Regions from separate parts of the Homo sapiens genome. Here regions 2 and 3 are each linked to region 1. Evidence: promoter capture Hi-C in 16 types of primary human blood cells and fetal thymus (Javierre and others, 2016). All regions are on one chromosome and are shown on one strand. The core of a region is centred on a gene start or on the middle of the fragment in contact, and the rest is flanking DNA. Distances in the headings are between cores, read along the strand shown.

Evidence for each region. The method cuts DNA at HindIII sites, captures the fragments that hold promoters and counts their contacts. A CHiCAGO score of 5 or more calls a contact.
Region 2: a fragment that was not itself captured here is called in contact with the fragment with the promoter of GNRH1 in region 1 in 1 of 17 cell types (neutrophils); the score reaches 5.2 in neutrophils.
Region 3: a fragment that was not itself captured here is called in contact with the fragment with the promoter of GNRH1 in region 1 in 1 of 17 cell types (neutrophils); the score reaches 7.5 in neutrophils.

The regions. Positions count from the first base shown.
Region 1 is chr8:25,422,206-25,425,637 of GRCh38, reverse strand. It overlaps GNRH1 (gonadotropin releasing hormone 1), which reads left to right and starts at 1,377. Exons shown (of 4, transcript NM_001083111.2): 1 at 1,377-1,437; 2 at 2,307-2,448. The coding sequence starts at 2,308. The HindIII fragment of the contact is 12,746 bases long and covers 252-3,432 here.
Region 2 is chr8:25,158,048-25,161,490 of GRCh38, reverse strand. No RefSeq gene overlaps it. Among named protein-coding and RNA genes, the nearest start is that of DOCK5, 25 kb to the left of the region's middle. The HindIII fragment of the contact is 371 bases long and covers 1,922-2,292 here.
Region 3 is chr8:25,137,091-25,140,625 of GRCh38, reverse strand. No RefSeq gene overlaps it. Among named protein-coding and RNA genes, the nearest start is that of DOCK5, 46 kb to the left of the region's middle. The HindIII fragment of the contact is 2,928 bases long and covers 506-3,433 here.

The DNA of each region.
Region 1 (3,432 bases), core at 128-2,627:
CCCTGCAAATGTAGTTATTCCAGAGGAGACTGTGCAATGACTGATGGGTTTAGCATCCTACATGAGGGGAAATTGCCATTCCCAGCTGTAAAATGAACAAATATCCAGTTATTTTTTTTAGCCATCTTACAGCTTAGCTAATATAACAGGATTTACAGCCAATTATACATGAAAGTTTAATTCTGTGTCAGATAAAGCATATCTTTGATGCAGAAATAGAGGCAGCATTAGGCCTTACCTGGTTAAAAGCTTTTTGCTTTCTATTCATTCATTCGTTCATTCATTCATTCAAACCTATACTTACTGAATGCTCACTAAATGCCGGGGGTTTATTAAGAGAGATTTAAATAAGATGGGATCTTTGACTATTACAGGTTTCAGCCTAGGGGTAAATTAGGGGAAGACAACCATGTATTCAAATAAATGTAATTAAGAGTAATGGTTGTGTGTGTATTTTACATGCTTGTCCTGTGTAAATAACACGTCCACGGTTGCACCTCTGGGGTGGAACATCTATAAAATTTAGATAATGATACCCACTTTGCATGGCTATTGTAATGAATGCTCTTATACATTTGCTATTTATTAAATAACTATAATTTCTCATCTTTCTGTTCCCACTGCCCTTAAGAGTGATTTGCATATTTAACTCAATAAGCATCTACTGAAATGAGTTGATCTGTTGATGTAAGTCTGCTCAATATGGTCTTGCTCTCAGAATATGTTTCTTGCCTTTTTGATGCTTTAGAAGGCTTTCAAGGTAAGTCAAGCAGGGAACCTGGTGGGTAGATGAGGGAATTTTCAAACACACAACTGTCTGATTTAGGATCCTACATGGACTTGGTATATAGTGTCACTTACTTGTAAATCAGATTTTTAAAATTGGAAGCAACTCTGTGATCATCTAGTCCATCTAGTCTACACCCTTCCTTTTACAAATGAAGAATCCAAGAGCCAGAAGCTCCCAGACATCCTGACTCAATGTCCTATATTTGTTGTATAGCCTCCTTTGTGGAAGTTATGTATGCATTTGACTTCACTTAATCTAAGACATCTATTTTCCTTGAACTCTTGATAGGTCTGCTGGTTTCCTCAAGGGAATCCAATCTAGCTGGATTTTAATCTCTTTGAATTGTGTCCTCAGCTATAAAAGTTTTAGCTGAGGTTTTAATGGCTGCACTTAAGTAAATCTAACAGATATACCAGGGGGTGTTCCAATTACATACACCATTAAAGGGCTTTATGTGAGGATTTTTAAAAATTACCATTAAAAAAAAAAAAGCATAGTCCATTTGCAGTATAATTTACCAGCAGGAAAGATTTCAATGTCCTGGAAAAATTCCCTATAAAAAGGAAGATAGGAAAACAGAAAAGTCACAGTACTCAACCTACTTCAAGGGAAGATTGGGATCTTTTTGGCTCTCTGCCTCTAAACAGGTAAAAGGCTTTGTATTATTTCTAGCACGAGTTTTTCTTCTTTAGATTGCATGCTATTGTATGTCTACAGGGCATTTGACAGCCCAAGGGCTAAATCCAGGTGTGACGGTATCTAATGATGTCCTGTCCTTCACTGTCCTTGCCATCACCAGCCACAGAGATCCAGGCTTTGGGGACTCCCACAGCTTATCGACCAGTGTTTGATTTAGTTTTTAGCCTCTTTCCCATCAAATGAAAATTAACTTGGAGACACATTTCATTAGAAAATTAGAGGCCCCCTTGGCTAGGAAGGCATCTGGTCTGGGACTAACTACTTTGAACAGTGTTGAGTCCTCTCTCCCACAGATGGTTCAGCCAGCAGTAATGCTAGGAAGACTGAAGGATAAATAGAAAAATGTCATTAGTACCATGGGGTAGCCATGTAATGTCAAGCAATTTTATATTAGCCAGAGATTCCTAGTAGGAGCTACTTTTCTTAACAGATGACTCAGTTCTCTTTATCTCAGGAATGAAAGAGTTGAAGACCAATCCACAACAGGGGAAATGTTAAGGCAAAATGATGAACTTGATAAGGGATGAATTATGGGGTTTGGATAACCAAACAATAAAAATAAAAGTATAGACTATTTTAGTACTAAAAAGGTCCTGAACATGTGAGCTTAAGTACTCATTTTGTCCCCAGTGGCTAAGAAACTAAAGGCAAGCCAGCAAGTGTCTCTGAGTTTCAGTGTCTGTATGTAAAAACTGACTCTGACTTCCATCTTCTGCAGGGTTAGTGATACAGATGCTAGCTTTTTCACTAAAGAGGTCTTTTAGTTTATACTCAACCTTGTCTGGATCTAATTTGATTGTGCATTCATGTGCCTTAGAATGAAGCCAATTCAAAAACTCCTAGCTGGCCTTATTCTACTGACTTGGTGCGTGGAAGGCTGCTCCAGCCAGCACTGGTCCTATGGACTGCGCCCTGGAGGAAAGAGAGATGCCGAAAATTTGATTGATTCTTTCCAAGAGGTAAGTTTCTCTCAGCTTCAAAATAAGACATAGTGATTTTATTCAATTTAACTATATTAAACATTCAGGATAGCCCCAATGTCAATATTCTATGATGTTGTACCCTAGATGCTCCAGGTGAGATAAGGCACTTACAAAGTAGAAGTCCCATTCCTACTTTCAGTTCACACAGGGACTAAACAAAGAGCTGGAAAAATTCCAAAAGAATATATTAATAGCAACAAGTGTGAGACAGCACGTCATACTCTGAGTGTATGGGATTGCTAAAGGAATTAGAAACAATGGGATAGGGTCAAGGTCTGTATCAGAAGATGATTCTTTGGGATTTGGAAAAAACGTTAGAACTTCGTTTTTTTTTTCCTCATTTCATCTTTTAAACATATCTATGCTATTAGATCAGTACATTTTTATAATTTATAAATGAGTATCCTTATCAAGGATGCATGCCCTATAATTTCTTTTCACTGATAGGGGCATTTAAGCAAAGTTGGAGACTGGTAGAATACAGGAATTAGCAAACTCAAGATGATAAGATAACGTAGTAGAAAACATGCTGATTTAAATTCATATAGATTAGATTATAGGACTGGCACCAACACTAACGTGAGGTACTTGCTTTCTTGTTTTTTGGGGTTATTTTCTAAGACAGGGTCTCGCTGTGTTATCTAGGCTGGAATTTAGTGGCACGATCACAGCTCACTGCAGCCTTGACTTCTTGGGCTCAAGTGATCCTCCCACCTCAGCCGTCTGCATAGCTGGGACCACAGGCATGCACTATCACACCCAACTAATTTTTAAAACTTTTTATAGAGATGGGGTTTCCCTATGTTGCCCAGGCTGGTCTCAAACTCCTGGGCTCAAGGGATCCTCCCACCTTGGCCTCCCAAAGTGCCGGGAGGATTTTTGTTTATAAAATATGACCACTCATCAGGGTCATGTAAGGAAAGAAGCCATCTATGTTAGCTGATTAACCTGAAAAATAAC
Region 2 (3,443 bases), core at 858-3,357, 260 kb after region 1:
CGGCTCACTGCAAGCTCTGCCTCCCAGATTCACACCATTCTCCTGCCTCAGCCTCCCGAGTAGCTGGGACTACAGGCACCCGCCACCATGCCTGGCTAGTTTTTTGTATTTTTAGTAGAGACAGGGTTTCACCGGATATACATTACTTCTATGTTGAGTCATATGATATAGAGGTAAGGCAACTGGTATCCACAAAGGTTCCTAACAGGTAGGCAGCTTGACCAGGAAGGAAGCCCAGGGCTTGGAATCAGGACATCTGGATTCAGTTCCTGGCTCTGCCACTTACTACCTGACAGGCCTGGGGCCAGTTGTTGGGTTTCATGGTGTCAGTGTCTTCATTGGGAGAATGGGCTCAAATGATGGATTTATACTGATGTCACACTGTCTTTTCATCTTGCTGTAGTATACCATGGATCAACCACGCAATAATAATCTCTTAAAAGAGAACTCTTTGTCCTTAAATTGAGTCCTTTTTTGCTTGTATATGTTCTGTTGATTAAATTTTGTGTTTGTCCCAGTACTTATTCATTAAGTTGGGTTTTTTCCCCCTAAAAATGAATATTCCTTCCATGAACCAAAGCAGTGAAAAATCTACTCATTCTATTTTTTTTTTTTGATACAGAGTCTCGCTCTGTCGCCCAGGCTGGAGTGCAGTGGTTCGATCTCGGCTTACTGCAAGCTCTGCCTTCCGGGTTCACGCCATTCTCCTGCCTCAGCCTCCTGAGTAGCTGGGAGAACAATTCCATTGGCTGAAAAAAAAAAAAAGAATGCTGTTTCAGGAGAGACTTGGGAGGTACAGGAGAAACATCAACACCTCAGGATGTTGGATAAAATGCAAACCCTTTTGAGTGTGTTGAGGGTTTTGATGGAGAAATTTTGTAAAAGGAGCTGCAATGCACTATTTTAGTTCCCCCTTAACTCCTCTATGCTACATTTCAGAGCTCCCAATTGAGCTCCTCACCTGCCCTGGTCACTTTCTTTTCCTTTTTCCGTGGGAGAAAGATTGTATTTCACTTGAGTTATACCAACCAGATTTCCTGAGCTAAGACCACCAAGGATGTAGTTGTGATAAAAAGTGAGAAGGCTAGGGGTGAGGGTGCCTTTATAAATGGCCACTAGTCAGACCAAGAGTTGTAGTGCCTTCAAAATCATTACATAGGCTGGGTGCAGTGGCTTACACCTGTAATTCCAGCTCTTTGGGAAGCCAAGGCAGGAGAATTGCTTGAGCCAAAGTAGTGAGACCTGGTCTCAACAAAAAATCAGAAAATTAGGTAGGCATGATGGCCTGCACCTGTGGTCCCAGCTGCCCAGAAGGCTGAGGTGGGAGGATTATTCGAGCCTGGGAGGTAGAGGCAGCAGTGAGCTGTGATCATGCCACTGCAATCCAGCCTGGGTGACAAAGCGAGACCCTGCCTCAAAAAAAAAAAAAAGTTGCCATATTGCTCTAAATTAGTGATGTGCCTGGAAGTCACTCTGCTGGACACTTCTTCTAAAGGGTAAAGTTCTGGCATTGGGAGAAAAAAAAAAAGACCCCTCCCCGCTGAGAATGGTGACTTGGAGCCGTGATACAAGAAGCGAGGCCCCAATCTGCCTGGCTAAAATAGTGCCATGTCCTGGATTTCCTAGGCAATGTCCTGTGACCTCTTAGCAATCTCTCTGACTGATGGTGACATCAATTTCATAATGGATGGCCACGACAGGGTCAGGTGGGAGGGCTAGGGAGGGCTAGCCTCTAGACTTCTCAGAGCTGTCCTTCTATAAGGACATTGCTTTGCTTCCTAGGTCAGCTGCAGGTGGGTAGGATGGCAAAAAATTCTTCTATGTTGAAGTCTTTCAGGACAGAACTGTGTCTGATAATTTAGTATTTGGGCCTTCAGGGACATAAGGGATAGTCCTGAAGTTTTGCTGGCTGGTTAAAGCTTTTTAAGCTAATACATATAAAATGAAAATATGCCCCTTCCTACCTTCACCAAGGAAAAAGAGTAGGACTCCATTCCATTTCCCACAAATTTAGTGGCTTCAAACAACATAAATTTATTGTCTTAAAATATTATTTTTATTATTAACTTTTAAAGATGGGAACTCTGTCACCCAGGCTGGAGTACAGTGGTGCAATCATGGCTCACTGCAACCTTGAACTTCTGGATTCAGGCAATTCTCCTGCTTCAGCCTCCCATGTAGCTGAGATTTAGGCATGAGCTGCCATGCCATGCAAATTTATTATCTTGAAGTTGTGGAGGTCAGGTGTCCAAAATGAGTCTTTAGGGATAAAATCAAAATGTTGGCAAAGCTTTGTTTTTTCTGGAGTCTTTATGGGAGAATCATTTTCATACCTTTTCCAGCTTCTAGAAGTTACCCAAATTCCTTGGCTCATGGCCTTTTCCTCCATCTTCAAAGTGCATCACTTCAATCTGCTTCCATTGTCTCATCTCCTCTTTGACTCTCACGTTCCTGCCTCCCTCTTGTAAGGACCCTTGTAATTGCATTGAGCCCATCCAGAGACTCTAGGATAATCTCCCCATCTCACAATCTTAGCCTAATCACATCCACAAAATCTCTTTTACTATGTAAGGTGACATATTTATGGGTTCCTAGGACTAGGACATGGACATCTTTGGAACCGTTATTCTGTCTCCCATACTTACTAAAAAAATAATAGTAGCACAGAGATATAAAGTAAAAAGTGAATTCACCTCCAATAATTTTGACTGCTTCTATTATCTAGTTCTTTGGCTTATTTGACATGAAATGCTAGATAACTTGCTTCTATATCTCTATTTCTTAATTCATCAGCTTAAAAAAATATATATTAACTTTCTGTGACAGAAACAACCAATGGGGAAAGGACTCCCTATTCAATAAATGGTGCTGGGATAACTGGCTAGTTACATGCAGAAGACTGAAACTGGACCCCTTCCTTACACCATATGTAAAAATTAACTCAAGATGGATTAAAGACTCAAATGTAAACCCTGTAAACCCTGGAAGAAAACCTAGGAAATACCATTCTGGTCATAAGCCCTGGCAAAGATTTCATGACAAAGATGCCAAAAGCAATTGCAACAAAACCAAAAATTGACAAGTGGGACCTAATTAAACTAAAGAACTTCTGCACAGCAAAAGAAACTATCAACAGAGTAAACAGACAACCTACAGAATGGGAGAATATATTTGCGAACTATGGCATCTGACAAAGGTCTGATATCCAGAATCTGTAAGGAACTTAAATCAACAAGCAAAAAACAAACAAACAAAAAACAAAAACAAAAAAACATTAAAAAGTGAGCAAAGGACATGAACACTTTTCAAAAGAAGACATACACACAGCCAACGGGCATATGAAAAAATGCTCAACATCACTAATCATTAGAAAAATGCAAATCAAAACCACAGTGAAATACCATCTCACACCAGTCAGATTAGCTATTATTAAAAAGTCGAAA
Region 3 (3,535 bases), core at 720-3,219, 290 kb after region 1:
TTACAGGTGTGAGCAACCATGCCCAGCTGTAATACATTTTCAAATGAAGAAGTGTAAGCTGGGTATGGTGGTTCACACCTGTAAACTCAGCACTTTGAGAAGCTGAGGTGGAAGAACTGCTTGAGCCCAGGAGTTTGTGGTTGCAGTGAGCCGTGATTACACTACTATACTCCAGCTTGGGTGATAGAGCGAGACCCTGTCTCAAACAAACAAACAACAACAACAAAAAGGTGTGAGTCTTCCAATTTTGTTCTTAATTTTAAAGATTGTTTTGGCTAGTCTGGGTCTCTTGCATTTCTATATGAGTTTTAGGATCAGCTTCTCCGTGTCTGCAAAAATGTCAGTTGGGATTTTAATAGCAACTGCATTGAATCTGTAGATAAATTTGGGGAGTGTTACCATCTTAATAATACTGAGACTTCTGATCCATAAAAATGGGACATCTTTCCATATATTTAGGTCTTCTTTAATTTCTTTCAACATTTTATAATTGTTAGTATAAGCTTTGCACTTATTTTGTTAAATTTATTTATTTTATTATTTCGATGTTATTGTAAATGCACTTGTTTTCATTTTTGATTGTTAATATGGCTTGGCTGTGTCCCCACTTAAATCTCATCTTGAATTGCAGTTCCCATAATCCCCAGGTGTCATGGGAGGGACCCAGCGGGAGGTAATTGGATCATGGGGGTGGTTACCTCCATGCTGTTCTCCTGATAGTGAATTCTCGTGAGATCTGATGGTTTTATAAGAGGCTTCCCTCTCAAGCTCTGCTTTGCTCTGCACTTCCTGCTCCTGCTGCAATTGTAAATTTCTTGAGGCCTTCCCCAGCCCTGCAGAACTGTGAGTCAATTAAACTTCTTTCCTTTATAAATTACCCAGTCTTGGGTATTTCTTCATAGGAGCATGAGAACGGACTAATACAGTTGTCCTTTGCTAGTGCATAGAAATATAATTCATTTTCTTATGTTGATTTTGTATCCTGAAAACGGATAAATTCATTTATTGGTTCTAATAGATTTTTGTGAATTACTTAGGAGTTTCAAGACACAGTCTGGAAATAGAGATAGTTTTACTTCTTCCTTTCCAATCAAAGGGCTGTTTATTTCTTTTTCTTGTCTAATTACCTCCATTAGAATATTGAATAGAAGTGCTGAAATTGGACATCCTTGTCATGTTCCTCATCTAAGGAGAGATCTGTCAATATTTCAGCATTAAGTATAATGTTAGCTGTGGCTTTTTCACAGAAGTCTTTTATAAGGTTGCAGAAGTTACCTTCTGTTTTTAGTTTATTGAGTGTTTGTATTATGAAATGTTGGATTTTGTCAGACTCTGTGTCTATTGGGATGATTATGTGGGTTTTTGCTTTATTTATTAATATGGATTATTATATAGATTAATTTTCATATGTTGAACCAACCTTGCAGTCCTGTGATAAATCACACTTAATCAAAGGGTATAATCCTTTTTATATGTTGTTGGATTTGGTTTGCTAGTATTTTGTGGATAAATTTTGCAAATATATTCATAAGTGATATTTGTTTGCAGTTTTCTTGTGATTTCTTTTGCTTTCAAGGTGATACAAACCTCTTAGAATAAGTTGAGAAGTGTTACCTCTTCTTCTATTATTTGGAAGTTTGAGAAGCATTGGTGTTAGCTATTCTTTAACCATATAGTAAAATTTACCAGTAAAGCTATTTAGGCCTGGTCCTTACTAATTCATTTTTTAAAATTAATACTTGTTACAGGTCTATTCAGATTTTAGATTTTCTCTTTGGTCCATTTCAGGACTTTCTGGCTTTCTAGGAATTTCTCCTTTCATTTAGGTTATCTAATTTGTTGGCATACCATAGTTCAAAATATTCTTTTATATTTCTTTTTATTTCTGTAAGGTCAATAGTAATGTCTCTTCTTTCATTTCTGGAATTAGTAATTTGAGTCTTCTTTTTTTTCCCTTGGTCAGTATAGCTAAAAGATTGTCAGTTTTGTTGTTCTTTTTAATAAAATACTTTTTGTTTTATTGATTTTCCCTGTTTTTCTATTTTCTGTCTCATTTATTGCAACTCGAATTTTTATTTTCTTTCTTCTGCTTTTAATTTAGCTTCCTCTTATTTTTCAAGTTTCTTAAAATAGAACATTAGGTTGTTGATATGAGGTGTTTATTCTTTTTTAATATAGGAATTTATACCTACAAATTTCTCTCTAAGCACTGCTGTAGCTGTGTCCCATAGGTTTTGGTATGATGTATCTTCATTTTCATTAATCTCAAATTTTCTAATTTCCCTTATGATTTTCTTCAGTTCATTAGTCATTTAATTGTATATTGTTTAATTTCAATGTGTGTGCATTTCCCAAATTTCTTTGTATTGTTTTTTTCTTTTATTCCACTGTGGTTAGAAAGCATACTTTGTATGATTTCAACTTTCCTAAATGTATTGAGGCTTGGTTTATGACCTAGCATATAGTCTATCCTGGAGAATCATCCATGTGAACTCGAGAAGAATTTGTGTTCTATCTTTTTGAGTACATTGTTCTATAGATGTCTGTTAGGTAGGATTAGTTTATAGTTTTTTTTTTAGTCATCTTATTGCTCTTCAGCCTGCTTTCGACCCACTATTGAAAATGGGATATTGGCTGGGTGTGGTGGCTCATGCTTATAGTCCCAGCACTTTGGGAGGCTGAGGTGGGTGGATCACTTGAGGTCAGGAATTCGAGACTAGCCTGGCTAACATGGTGAAACCCCGTCTGTACTAAAAATACAAAAATTAGCCTGGCGTGGTGGCAGGCGCCTGCAGTCCCAGCTACTCTGGAGGCTGAGGCACAAGAATTGCTTTAACTTGGGAGGCAGAGTTTGCAGTGAGCTGAGTTTACACCACTGCACTCCAGCCTGGGTGGCAGAGCAAGACTCCATCTCAAAAAAAAAAAAAAAAAGAAAAAGAAAATGGGATATTGATAACTCCAACTATTACTTTTGAATTACCTATTTTCTCCTTCAAAATTTTCCTTCTCTACTCTCAGTCTTCACATCTTTCAAGTCCTTTCAATTACGCTATTGGACGCCATACGGAATCTGTTCTTTGAACACTCATTGATGTCTTTAATGTTTTCATTTACCACAATTTGGATAATCTGGGCCATCCATTACATCTTTCTGAAGATCCTTGAGAGACATTTCTGGCCTGATTTGGCTCGATAATGACTGGTCCAGTCTGTGCAGATATTTTGCTCTGTGAATGCAAGTTTCCAAAAAGATTTCCCAAAGGCAGGTAGAGCAAGTAGAAAACCACGAAGGCAACTGCCCTCCATATTGAAAGATCCCATCTGGGTTGCTATGGCCAAGTGAGAGAGAGATCAATGACACTCTTTCTGGGCCATTCCTGAATAAGAAATCATGTCAAGTTGCCCTCAAACAAATACTTTCTATAATGAAGCTTTCCTGAAATTTGAGTTATTTTCTTGGTGGTTGTCCTGGATTACCACTAGCATGCTTACAGGAATCTAGTTTGAATTCATGTTTATTTAAACTAAAAAGCTT